Linked DNA regions of Homo sapiens: region 2 is linked to region 1. Evidence: promoter capture Hi-C in human tissues and cell types (Jung and others, 2019). All regions are on one chromosome and are shown on one strand. Each heading gives the region's core, a stretch centred on a gene start or on the middle of the fragment in contact. The rest is flanking DNA. Distances are from core to core; before and after follow the strand shown.

Region 1 (6,288 bases), core at 2,732-5,231:
CTCTTCGTTTCCCCTGCCCTCCAGCCCTAGGAAGCTAAAAATCTGCTTTCTTTCTCTGTAGATTTGCATATTCTGAACATTCCATATACATGGAATCATATAATATGTGGTCTTTTGTGAGTGGTTTCTTTCACTTGCTATGTTTTTAAGGTTCAACTGTGATGTAGCACATTATCAGTAACTCTTTGGCTTTGTAATGCAAACTATTGAAAAGCAAACATGTGACATGAGACTCAAATACCAAGAAAGAAAGGTTTCAAAATATTTATTGAGGATCTCCTATTTGCCACCGTTAGCTAGTAAACGCATATGGATCATTCTCTAATTGTTATCTTCATTCCTACATGATCTATTAGGCACCAGAATTACATTTCCAGCTGCCATATTGACTTGGGTATCCAGGAGCTGACACCTTGAACTTAGTTCTCCCTCTTTCAAGGCCTTCTTTATTTTTGCTAGACAGAATTCCCCCAGGCTCAGAAGTTCAATCTTTAATTCCCTTTTCACTTTCATATCCAATCAGTCACCAAATCTTATAAACTCTATTTCTCAAATATTTTCTCTGTTTTGGTGTGTCAAAAATGTTATGGGTTGAATTGTATTTCTCCACAAAAAGATACACTGAAGTCTTAACCTAACATTACCTCAGAATATGACCTTATTTGGAAATATAATAATTGCAGATATAATTAGTTAAGATGAGGTCATACTGAAATAGGGTGTGTCCTTCATTCAATAAGGCTGGTGACCTAATAAAAAGAACACTATGTGAAGAGACAGAGACACAGGAAAATGCCATGTCACAATGGAGGCAGAGATCCAAATGATGCAACTATAAGCCAAGAAATGCCAAAGATTGCTGGCCATCACCAGAAGCTAGGAGAGAGGCATGGAATAATTCTCCTTCAGAGCCCCCAGAAAGAACCAAACCTGTGGACACCTTGATTTTTAGCCCCTAGAACTAGGGTAAGGTGACAAATTTTTGTTGCTTAAATTACCTAGTGTGTGGTACTTAATCACTACAGCCCTAGGTAACTAATACAGACACTAAATGACTTCATAATAGTTTAGGCATTCATTATATCATGCATCCCAAATCTTTATTTCATCATTTTATCTGCTACCCCAGACCAAGCCATCATCATTTCATGCCTAGGCAATGTTAATCACCTCCTAATTGTCTCCCTTGTCTCCCACAAGAATGGCACCCCTATTGCCATTCTTGTATCCTTATAATTCATTTGCCACATAGAATATTTTAATAATTAAACCATATCATATCAGTGTTCTGCTGAAAACTCTCCAATAGCATCCCTTAAATGGACATTAAAGGGCCTATATGAACGAACAGCTGCCTAGCTCTTGCACCACAATTCCTGCCACTCCTCATTACACACCGGGTATGCTAGATTTTTTTTTTTTTTTAAAAGACCAATTCAATTCCTCCATTGCACGAACTCTGCCATTCTGGAATGCTCTTCCTCTCATGGCTCATTTCTTCTTGTCATCACACTTCAGCTTAAATGTCAGTTCTGAACGGCCTTTCTTGACGACCGGAACTAACACAGATATTTGCTCAGTTTTAATTCTCGACAATGCACTTACCACTATCTGACATTGTTTTGTATTATTTTATGTATTTCACTGGTAATTGTGTCTCCTCTCCCTCCTACCCCCAATAGAGTATGACAACTGGGACTTGTCTTATCATTTATCCACAGTACGTGGGAAAATGGCCGGCACATGGGACTTCAATAAATATGTGCTCAATGGTGAACCACCTAGGTAGGCAGATATGTACGCTAGGATCGTGCTCGTGGGGAGCTTAGGTTCTAAAGGGAAAGGTCAATAAATAGGAGAAAAACAAACACCTAGATTCTGTTAACTGTTGCATAGAAGAGATTGAAGTTATACAGAAGACACTGAGGAGTCTATAATCAGAAGTTTCTCAGGTATGAGGTGACATTTTTGCTGAGGCTGGAATGAAGGCTTGGAAAAAATTAAGCAAGTAGAGCTCAGCTCCCTGAAAATTTCCAACAGAGAGAACAGCAAGCAAATAATCTTAGAGGCTATTATACAACAAATTCACTGAGTTCCAGGAAAGTCAGTGTGACTAGAGCATAGTAAAACTGGAAAATGATGAGAAAAGTGGCTGGAAAGGTAGTCAGGGTCCAGATTATACAAGCCTTGTTAGAGAATGATAAGCTGTTTCTATTTTACCCTAAGTGAAATACTATGCTATTTAAGTTGCTAAATGACATCGTCTGATTTACTCAGTGTAGAGTCTCACCAAACTGTGTCCCCAACCACCAGCATCAGAATCACTTCTGAGCTTGTTAAAAATGCAATCTGAAGCACCACATCGGAACTCAATTAAGATCCCTAGGTGATTCATATGCACATTAAAGTGTGAGAAACACTGGTACAGAGAATGGAGTAGAGGTGAGAAAGAGTAGAAGAGGGGAAGTCAGTTAGAGAGCTACATTCTGGTCCAAGTGAAGGAAAACAGTGGCCTGCATAAGAGTGACAGCAGGAAGGATGAGAAGACGGATTCTAGGTCACGTTTTGCAGACAGTTTGTTTAGGTCTCCTAGCCAGCTAAATGGAAATCTCAGTAGACAGGCAGTGATACAAGCCTGGGTTTCTGAAAAAAGTTTAGGCTTGGAGATGTAGATCTGTGGGTCTGTTATTAATAGTTGTCCTGCTTCGGGTTTTTATTTTTTTTTAATTTTCTTCCTTTTTTAGTGCTTTATATTTTACAAATGTCTGCAGCAGTTTTTTGTCATCTTTATGGAAAACAAGGCACGTCTTAAAGTCGTTCAAGTCCTTCACTTTTTCACACTGAGGTCTGTCTTCATATCCACTTATCTTTCAAGTCTATGAAACCCCTTATAAAAACTTTCCTTTGAAATATTTTAAAATTCAAGGCCCACGGCTGATTAATACTGTTTCTCCTCCATAACCCCTAGGATCCTCCAGTTCTGGGTTTTAACAAGAAAAATATCCTCAATCCTCTCTAGTTTCTAGGTGTAAAGCAGCTTGGACCCTCCTGGGTTTGGTGGGTCCATCTCTCTTGGAGTCCAACTCTGTATTCCTAAAAAGCAATTATTGAAATAGAAGCTAGTCAGTTAATGGCAATAAAAGAAGGGAATTCCAAGTGGGAGCTTCCCAAGCCAAGAGGAAGAGAGGTTTCTTGCCTTATCACTGTAAGTGGCAGAGTGGAGTTCCAATTCAATGATATCATTTGTGTTATCAAAGGTAGTTTAATCGTTGAAAAGCTTGTTAACAATTATAAACACAGGCAAATGCCTTTTCCTTTTTGGCCTTACGGAGAATGAGAAAAGTTCTTCCCATGGCTAAAATTCTTAGCTGTTGGTAATGCAGAAAAGAGTACCAGAACAGCAGAATTCCAACGGTATTCCAGGATTCTGTGTCTTGGTTAATTTTAAATTCACGTGACCTGGCAAACTTAGGAGAGTCCTGGTTGTAAGAGGTATTAACATTTTCAGCAGTAGTACTCTAGCTACACTTGACTGTTCCCCTCTCTGTGAATTTACATGATATGTTTGAAATACTGCCCCTCAAAAGTCTCAGAACTTTGAGAAATACGGTCCTTTCCAAAAAAACCCCTTATGTCCAATTTGAAGGGGTCGCTGTCAGTGGGTGCTTAAGTGGGTAAAGAAAAGCCAAGAATATGTCAGGGTGAGGAAGGCCAAGGCTGAGCGAGGTCAGCTTGGGACCCACCTCCTAGAATGACCTCCGCCAGCAGGAAAAAACCGTTAAGGGGAGGAAAGGGCAGGTCCCTGCGGCCTCCAGGTGCCAGCCGCGTGAGTGGGCGGAGAGGCCTCGGTGCCTCCTACCCGCTCCGGACGTGCGTCCCGGCATCACCCCGGGATCCGCTCCTCCCCGCTGGCGGGGGGAGAAAGGGCAGGAGGCCTTCCGTCCCGGCTATAAAGGGCCCCGGACCGCCGCGGCTCGCCTCGGCTTGCCTCGACACGCCTAGGCGCCCTCCGGCTCCGCCCTAGCCGCCGCGTCCCAGCTAGAGCTCCAGCGCCCGCTCAGGCCCCACTCGACCTCTCGGGCCTCGGCTACTTGGACTGCGGCGGAATATGGCGGCTCCGATGACTCCCGCGGCTCGGCCCGAGGACTACGAGGCGGCGCTCAATGCCGCCCTGGCTGACGTGCCCGAACTGGCCAGACTCCTGGAGATCGACCCGTACTTGAAGCCCTACGCCGTGGACTTCCAGCGCAGGTACCGCCGGAATCCCACCACCCCCACTTAGACAGGCAGCCCGCCTCCCAGGAGCCGTCTCGGGACACGGGCCGCCCCTCGGCCCTCGCGCGCCAACCCCGCCCCAGGCGGGGAGGAACCTGAGTGGGCGGGGCTCGGGGTGACTCGGGTAACCGGGTTCTGTGGCTTCCGTAGTGGCAGGTTTGACAGCGCTGGTGCCCGGAGCGGGCGCTGAAGAAACTTCTTTCCTCATCCCCTTTCCCCTCTGTTCTAATCAGCGGTCTTGCGCCATAGGGTACGTGCTGTGGCTCCAACACTTATTCCCCAGAGTGCTGCTGGGGAGTGACTCACCGCCGCTGCAGGTTTTCTGACTTTGGCACCCACTAGCGTGGGCCTGTGGAGTAACGTGGGCATAACTCCTGGCACGTGTAATTACGCATTTAAAACTTTCTAGTTTATTTCATAGCAAATGTTGTGATTTTATATCTAAGAGGATTCCTTCAGGCAGACACTATATCCTTTTGTTTTTTCCTTGCTAATATTCCTCATTTAGGGGAAGATTACACCTACATTGATCAATTTTTTCTCCCCTTGGATCAACATTGAGAAGTTAAATGTACATCAACATTTGTCCGTGTGTGACTTTAACCATCTTGAAGAGGGAGAAAGGTCAGGAAAGCAACTTTTACAGGCCAATGTCGTTTTAGCTTGTCTTCTACCATTGTGTACCATACAACTTTAGTTACTGGGCTAATAATTCTATTCATAAGTTCCACTAAAAAGGTACAGGTCTTTTTCTGTTGTCGTTGTTGTTTGAAGTAAAAGAGCTATTATACAAGTTGTAATAGTTATACTTGTGAGGTTACCCCATTTTGATTTAATAGTTTCTCCCCTTTTAGGAGAGACACTGCAGAATGGAAACTATCCTGGCAACAGAATATACATGGCCAATTTTTCGAGTGATGGAAAACATCCAACTAGTTAACTGGCATGAAGGAGCGTTGAGAGTAATGAAAATGGGTTGATTTGGAGTTTGAAAAAAGCCCAGCAAATTGTTTGTGTCCTAGCATTTTCAGGTATTAAATGCATTCAAATCAGCAAGTGTTTATTGAGGAACTCCTATAAATAAAACACTGCTCTAGGGATTGTAAGGGATGTGAAGTTTCATTCTTGAGCTTGTATATAGTAGTGAATGAGGCCTCTGTAAAATAATCACCTTGAGCTGTCCCTCACTTAATCAGATGATTATGCTCTTATATAAACCATATGAGGAGCAGCCTTGTGAAATTGTTTTCAGAATTTACAGTATATGCTTTCAGAGAAACTTAGTGCATAATCGTCATAGGTTTAAGGTTGGATTTGATTTAGAAATAGTCAGAAAAAATTTAGAACAAAAGATAGTGATTAAAGGTAGTGGTTAGATTTTTTTTTTGATGTCCTTGTAACCATGACATTAATTTACCTGTGTGCTTTGTAAAAGGACACTTAAGATATTTATTAAAGAAGAGTTGTGGAAATGTTTTATCTACACCCCCTTCCTTTTTTTTTTAAATGACACAAACAGATTAACATTCTTTATTAAGTGTTTCTTTCATGTACTTTATTTCCAACTCCACTGGGATTGAAGCATTTATAATCTTCTTTCATGGTTTGCCAAAACTAATGAAGGGAACAAAGGCCAAGATAAAGAAGGGAAGAGAATCCAGTGTGCTTGGTGAAAAGTCTCGTCCAGTGGGCCCTCATGCCTCACTCTGACCCGGATTTTACTTTTGTCCTTGGTTCTGAGTAATGGCCATTTGCTAGCATACATGTTCCATTTAGGCATATCAAATAGTAATTTGGCATTTGTTAGTGGTAACTTCTATTGTTAACACTTGAAGAATAAAACATTTTTCCTTCATACAATCTGGTCTTAGTTCCTTGTCCAATTTTCCATTTATTTCTGATAATCCATTTGGACTGTGTGTCTTTGGCCTAACACAAATACATAACCAGTCAAACACTTAGGTGCAAAGTATGCTTACTAAGGAGTGAAGAAAATTTGAGGTACAAACAACA
Region 2 (6,772 bases), core at 3,327-5,826, 1.7 Mb before region 1:
GGATTAATGCCTCTTTCCAGAGAAACATCCAAAATATTAATACATGAATACACACACAGATATACAAATTTTATATTTTGTGAATATTTTGATGTATTTGTTACTTTTGTATGAACTATAATAAAGTTGTTAATATTATATTAATATGGAGTAGTCTGCTTATTCATGAATACATTGAGATGCAAATAATTATTAATAAAAGTAGATTTTTCTTTCCATATTATACTGAAAATAAAATAGGATTTGGAATGTAGTGTTGTCATTCAAAGATTGCACAATTATAGTTTTAGCTATCTTTGGGAAACACAGAAAATTTCTGACTTTTCATACTAGTTTGTGACTTTGCTGAAATGAGGTAAAAAAAATTAATTACTTGTGTTTCAAAGCTGGTGTACAAGAGAAAACCACATAGGAAGAGAATGAGCCTATTCTACAGGGTGTATCACCATCTCAAACCACTCTTTTGGCCTCTATTAATTATGAAGTATACATTACATGGGGGCAATGAGCTTGGATATTCTCAAAGGTTTTAATAACATATCTTGGTTAATAGCCCCTCCATTCTGTTAGAATCTGCTGAGACTCAGTTTCCTGGGTTAATCTGAATATTAATAAGATCCAATTTCAGAATACTCATTTGAGGTGGAAAATATTATATGTTATATATAATATATATAATATATAATATATATATGAAATACCTATAATGTCTAATTGCTTTATAAATTCTTGTAATAATACTATGATTTAGGAGCATTATAATTTTAATGATTCATCAGTGATTCAATGCAAAATGTGCTCATATTTTCAATTTTTTAACAAACTATAAACAACTGTTGATTCCAAGCAATAAAAACATTCTAATTAATTAAAATGTTCTTATAAAGTAACAATAAAAGGTGAGAAATTAAATTAGATAAAATAAGATAGTTATTAATAAACTATAATTATTAACTATCAAATATGATATTTAATAAAATAGTTATTTTGCTAAAGCTAAAATCAAAATATTCTAAACATAAATAATATCTTTTAGAAGCCATTCTTTTTTCATATAAACTTTGATTTAAGATGCCAAAAGTCAAAGTGTCTCAATTATCTTAGAAATTAAAACATGTAAAAGTGTTCCTATTTCTCCACATCCTCTCCAGCACCTGTTGTTTCCTGACTTTTTAATGATTGCCATTCTAACTGGTGTGAGATGATATCTCATAGTGGTTTTGATTTGCATTTCTCTGATGGCCAGTGGTGATGAGCATTTTTTCATGTGTTTATTGCGGCATTATTCACAATAGCAAAGACTTGGAACCAACCCAAATGTCCAATAATGATAGACTGGATTAAGAAAATGTGGCACATATACACCATGGAATACTATGCAGCCATAAAAAATGATGAGTTCATGTCCTTTGTAGGGACATGGATGAAACTGGAAACCATCATTCTCAGTAAACTATCGCAAGAACAAAAAACCAAACACCGCATGTTCTCACTCATAGGTGGGAATTGAACAATGAGATCACATGGACACAGGAAGGGGAATATCACACTCTGGGGACTGTGGCGGGGTGGGGGTAGGGGGGAGGGATAGCATTGGGAGATATACCTAATGCTAGATGACGAGTTAGTGGGTGCAGTGCACCAGCACGGCACATGTATACATATGTAACTAACCTGCACAATGTGCACATGTACCCTAAAACTTAAAGTATAATAAAAAAAAAAAAGAAATTAAAACATGTAAAATTTTATAGGAAAATTTGAAAAATTGAAGATCTAGTTACATATATGATTATATCTCAGAATAGCAAGACTTTTCAGTATATTTTTGCCTTTCATTTATTTTTTTAAGAACTTGTTATTAATCTGAAATGTTATATTCAGATTAGTGTATATCAATAACTTCCTTAGTAGACACTGAAGTATCAACTATGTGTCAAATGTTAAACAGATAATGAAGATACTATGAAAAAGCTTATTAAATACACTTAGATGAAAAAGATAAAAATTCATAATAAAACAGAACTTACCAAATGAACACAAGAATAAACACAAATCCACTATAGTCCATACCCAATAAGCAAAATAAACTTTCAGTTGAAAACCTTCCCACAAAAAAATCTCTAGGCCCACATGGTTTTGTTGGTTGAATTCATCCATTCATTTAAGAGAAAAAAAAATTGTAGTAGTTTTTAATAACTCTTCCATGTATTACAATTTTTCAACTATTTTATGAGACCCATAGAATCTTGATGCCAAAACTCTAATAAAGGTACACAATAAAAAGATGATAACAGGACCATTTCTCTCACAAATATAGAATCTGAAATTTAAAAAATAATAATAAAGAATCAAATACATAAAATTACAAGATATTCAAAACTTCATAAACAAGTACGACTTAACTGAGTAATGCAATCTTATTTCAATAAAAACAACGAAATAAATATACACATTAATACAAAGAAAAAATATGACTATCTGATGAGAGAATCATTCTATAAAACTCAACATAAATTTAATTACCAAAATAATATTTAGTTGATCCTTGAACAACACAAGCTTGAGCTGCACAAGTCCCATTATACATAAGTTTTCTTCCATCTCTGCCACCCTTGAGATAGGAGGACCAATCCCCTTCTGTTCCTCTTCTGCTCAGCCTACTTAACATGAAGACAATGAGGATGTACACTATTTATTTTTGTTTTTGTGGTACTTGCTTTTGGGTTCTTGGTCATGAAGTCTCTGCCTAAGCCAATGTCTAGAAGGGTTTTTCTGATGTTATCTTCTAGAATTTTTATGGATTTAGATCTTAGATTTAAGTGTTTGATCCATCTTGAGTAGATTTTTGGTAAGGTGAGAGATGAGGATCCAGTTTCATTCTTCTACATGTGGCTTGCCAATTACCCCAGCACCCACTTTATGGTATTGTTTCCTTCATTGAAGATCCTTTGGCTAAATTTGGCTTTATTTCTTGGTTATCCATTCTGTTCCATTGGTCTATGTGCCAATTTATATACCAGTACCATGCTGTTTTGGTAACTATAGCCTTGCAGTATATTTGAAGTTGGGTAATGCAATTCCTCCCTCCAGATTTGTTCTGGCTTAGTCTGGCTTTGGCTATGAGGGTTCTTTTTTTTTATGTTCCATATGAATTTTAAGACTGTTTTTTTCTATGTCTGTGAAGAGTGATGATGGTAGTTTTATGAGAATTGCATTGAATCTTTAGATTGTTTTTGACAGTGTGGTCATTTTCACAATATTGATTCTACCCATCCATGGGCATGGGATGTGTTTCCACTTGTTTGTGTCATAGATTATTTTTTTCAGCAATGTTTTGTAGTTTTCTTTGTAGAGATCTCTTACTTCCTTGCTTGGGTATATTCCTAAGTATTTTATTTTATTTTTTGCAGCTGTTGTAAAGGGAATGACTTCTTGATTTGATTCTGAGCTTGATTGTTGTTGATGTATAGCAGTGCTACTGATTTGTGTACATTGATTTTGTATCCTGCAACTTTACTGAATTTATTTATCAGATTTAGGAGTCTTTGGGAGGAGTCTTTAGGATTTTTCTCAGTATGATCTTATCATTAGTAAACAGTGACAATTTAACTTCCTCTTTGCCAATTTGGATGCCTTTTATTTATTTCCCTTATGTGACTGCTCTTGCTAGGCCTTCCAGGTCTATGTTGAATAGGTGTAGTGAAACAGGGCATCCTTGTTTTCTTCCATTTTTCAGGTGTAATGCCTTCAACTTATCTTCATTCAGCATAATGTTGGCCATGGGTTTGCCATGAATGGCTTTTATTAACCTTGAGGTAAGTTCTTTCAATGCCAATTTTGCTGGATGTTTTAATCATAAAGGGATGCTGGATTTCACTAAATGCTTTTTCTGCATCTATTGAGATGATCATATGGTTTTTGTTTTTAATTGTTTATCTAATGTATTACATTTATTGACTTGCATATGTTAAACAAACCCTGCATCCCTGATATGAAACTCACTTGATCCTGGCATATTATCTTTTTTATATGCTGTTGTTTATGAATTTTATTTATCTTTTTGACGAACTAGCTTTTTGTTTCATTTATATTTTGTATTATTTTGTTTCAATTTCATTTAGTTCTACTCTGATTTTTGTTACTTCTTTTCTTCTGCTGGGTTTGGGTTTGGTTTGTTCTTGTTTCTCTAGTTCCTTGAGGTGTGACTTTAGGTTATCTATTTGTGCTCTTTCAGTTTCTTTGATGTAGGCTAGCACTGCTTTTTCTATATCCCAGAGGTTGTGATAAGTTGTGTCACTCTTATTCAGTTTAAATAATTTTTACAGTTTCATCTTGATTTTATTGTTGATCCAAAGATCATTCAAGAGTACATTGTTTAATATTCATGTATTTGTATAGTTTTCAGGATTTCCTTTGGAGTAAATTTCCACTTTTATTCCACTGTAGTCTGAGAGGATACTTGACATATTTTCAGTTTTCTTAAATTTTGAGGCTTGTTTTGTGACCTATCATCTGGCCTATCTTGGAGAATGTTCCATGTGCTGATGAAAAGCATGTGTAGTCTTCAGTTGTTGGGTAGAATGTTCTGGAAATATCTGTTGAGTCCATTTTTTTCAAGGGTGTAGTTTAAGTCCATTGTTTTTTGTTAAATTTGACTTGATGAAACGTCTAGTGCTGTCAGTGGAGTATTGATGTTCCACACTACTATTGTTTTGCTATCTGATTTCTTAACTCTACTAGTGATTGTTTTAAAATTTGTGGACTCCAGTGTTACATGCATACGTTTAGAATTGTGAATGCACACATGTTTAGAATTGTGATATTTTCCTGTTGAACTAATGCTTTTATCACTATATAATGTCTCTCTTCATCTTTTTTACCGTTGTTGCCTTAAAGTCTGTTTCGACTGATATAAGAATAGTTACTCCTGCTTACTTTAGGTTTCCATTTATGTGGAATATCTTTTACCATGCCTTTACCTTAAATTTGTGTGAGTCCTTATGGGTTAGGTGAGACACTGGAAGTTAGCAGATACTTGGTTGGTGGATTTTCATCCATTCTACCATTCTGTATTTTTTAAGTGGAGCATTTAAGCCATTTACATTTAATGTTAGTATTGAGATGTGAGGCACCGTTCTATTAATCATGTTAATTGTTGCTTTAATATCTTTTTTTTAATTTTTTTCATTGTGTTATTGTTTTATAGAACATGTGAGATTTATGGTTAAAGAGGTCCTATTTTGGTGTATTTTATGGTTTTGTTTTAAGATTTAGAACTCCTTTTAGCAGTTATTGTAGCGCTGGCTTGATAGTGGCAAATTTTCTCAGCATTCGTTTGTCTTAAAAAGACTATTGCTCCTTCATTTATAAAGCTTAATTTTGCTGGAAAAAAATTCTTAATTGGCAATTATTTTGTTTCAGGAGGCTAAAGATAGGACCCCAATCCCTTCTGGCTTGTAAGTTTTCTGCTGATAAATCCGCTGTTAATCAGGTAAACTGATGCTTTTTTCTCACTGCTCTTAAAATTCTTTCCTTCATTTTGACATTAGATAACCTGAGGACTATGTGCTAAGGTGATGATCTTTTTGTGGTAAATTCTCCAGGTGTTCCGTGAGTTTCTTATATTTAGATGGCTATCTCTCTAGCAAGACCAGGAAAGTTTTCGTCTATTATTCCTTCAAGTAAGTTTTCCAAACTTACAGAAATCTTAGATTTCTCTTCTTCTTCAGGAAAACCAATTATTCTTAGGGTTGGCCATTTCACATAATCCCAAATTTCTTGGGGACTTTGTTCTTTTTTTTCTGGTGGGGGGTGGATTCCTTTTTCTTTGTCTTCATCTGATTGGGTTAATTCAGAAGCTTTGTCTTTGAGTTCTGAAGCTCTTTCTTCTTGTTGTTCTAGTTTATTGTCGAAACTTTCCAGTCCACTTTACATTTCTCTAAGTGTGTCTTTTATCTCCAGAAGTTGTGATTTTTTTTTTCTTTATGATATCTATTTCTCTGGAGGATTTTTCATCCATATCCTGTATTTCTCTTAATTTCTTTAAGTTGCTTTTTTAACCTTTCTCTGGTATCTGCTTGAGTAGCTTAATAATCAACTTTCTATATATATCTGGCAATTCAGATATTTCTTCTTGGCTTAGATCCATTGCTGGGGAGCTAGTGTGATCTTTTGGGGGTGTTATCGGACCCTGTTTTGTCACATTACCAGAATTACTTTTCTATTTTCTTCTCATTTGGGTAGACTATTTCAGCAGAAAGATCTGGAACTCAAAGCCTGCTCTTCAGATTCTTTTGTCCCAAGGGGGGATCCCTTGATATGTTGCTCTACCCCTTCCTCTAGGAATGGGGCTTCCTGAGAGACAGACTGCAGTGATTGTTATTGCTTTTCTGGGTCTGACCACCCAGCAGGGTTATCAGACTCTGGGCTGGTGCTGGGGAATGTCTGCAGAGTCCTGTGATGTGATCCATCTTCAGGTCTCCCAGCTGTGGTTATCAGCACCTGCTCTGGTGGAAGTGTCAGGAGAGTGAAGTAGACTCTGTGAGAATTCTTGGTTGTAGAAATGTTTAGCATGCTGGCTTTCTCAAAAGCTTGTTATGCTAGCAGTGACGTTGTCACATGGACAAACTCAGGAACTCTGGTTAGCCAGGATTTTGCAGGCAGTGGAACTAGCTGTTGTTTTCTCTTTCCTGGGAGCAGCGTTATTCTGTCATGCATTGCTGTGATGGCCTGAGTTGGTTGGTCTCCTGCCAGGAGGTGGTGCCTTCAA

Evidence for each region. Contacts are between HindIII fragments. The study calls those that stand out against the background at their distance.
Region 2: a contact is called between a fragment that was not itself captured here and the fragment with the promoter of GBE1 in region 1, in 1 of the 25 tissues and cell types used here (dorsolateral prefrontal cortex).

The regions. Positions count from the first base shown.
Region 1 is chr3:81,759,338-81,765,625 of GRCh38, reverse strand. It overlaps GBE1 (1,4-alpha-glucan branching enzyme 1), which reads left to right and starts at 3,981. Exons shown (of 16, transcript NM_000158.4): 1 at 3,981-4,251. The coding sequence starts at 4,109. RefSeq lists silencers at 3,753-3,852, 4,353-4,432 and enhancers at 3,508-4,116, 3,903-4,192, 4,533-4,702. The HindIII fragment of the contact is 8,733 bases long and covers 1,065-6,288 here.
Region 2 is chr3:83,440,267-83,447,038 of GRCh38, reverse strand. The region is part of intron 2 of LOC105377183 (a long non-coding RNA gene); the gene reads right to left. Among named protein-coding and RNA genes, the nearest start is that of LINC00971, 1.4 Mb to the left of the region's middle. The HindIII fragment of the contact is 4,615 bases long and covers 2,269-6,772 here.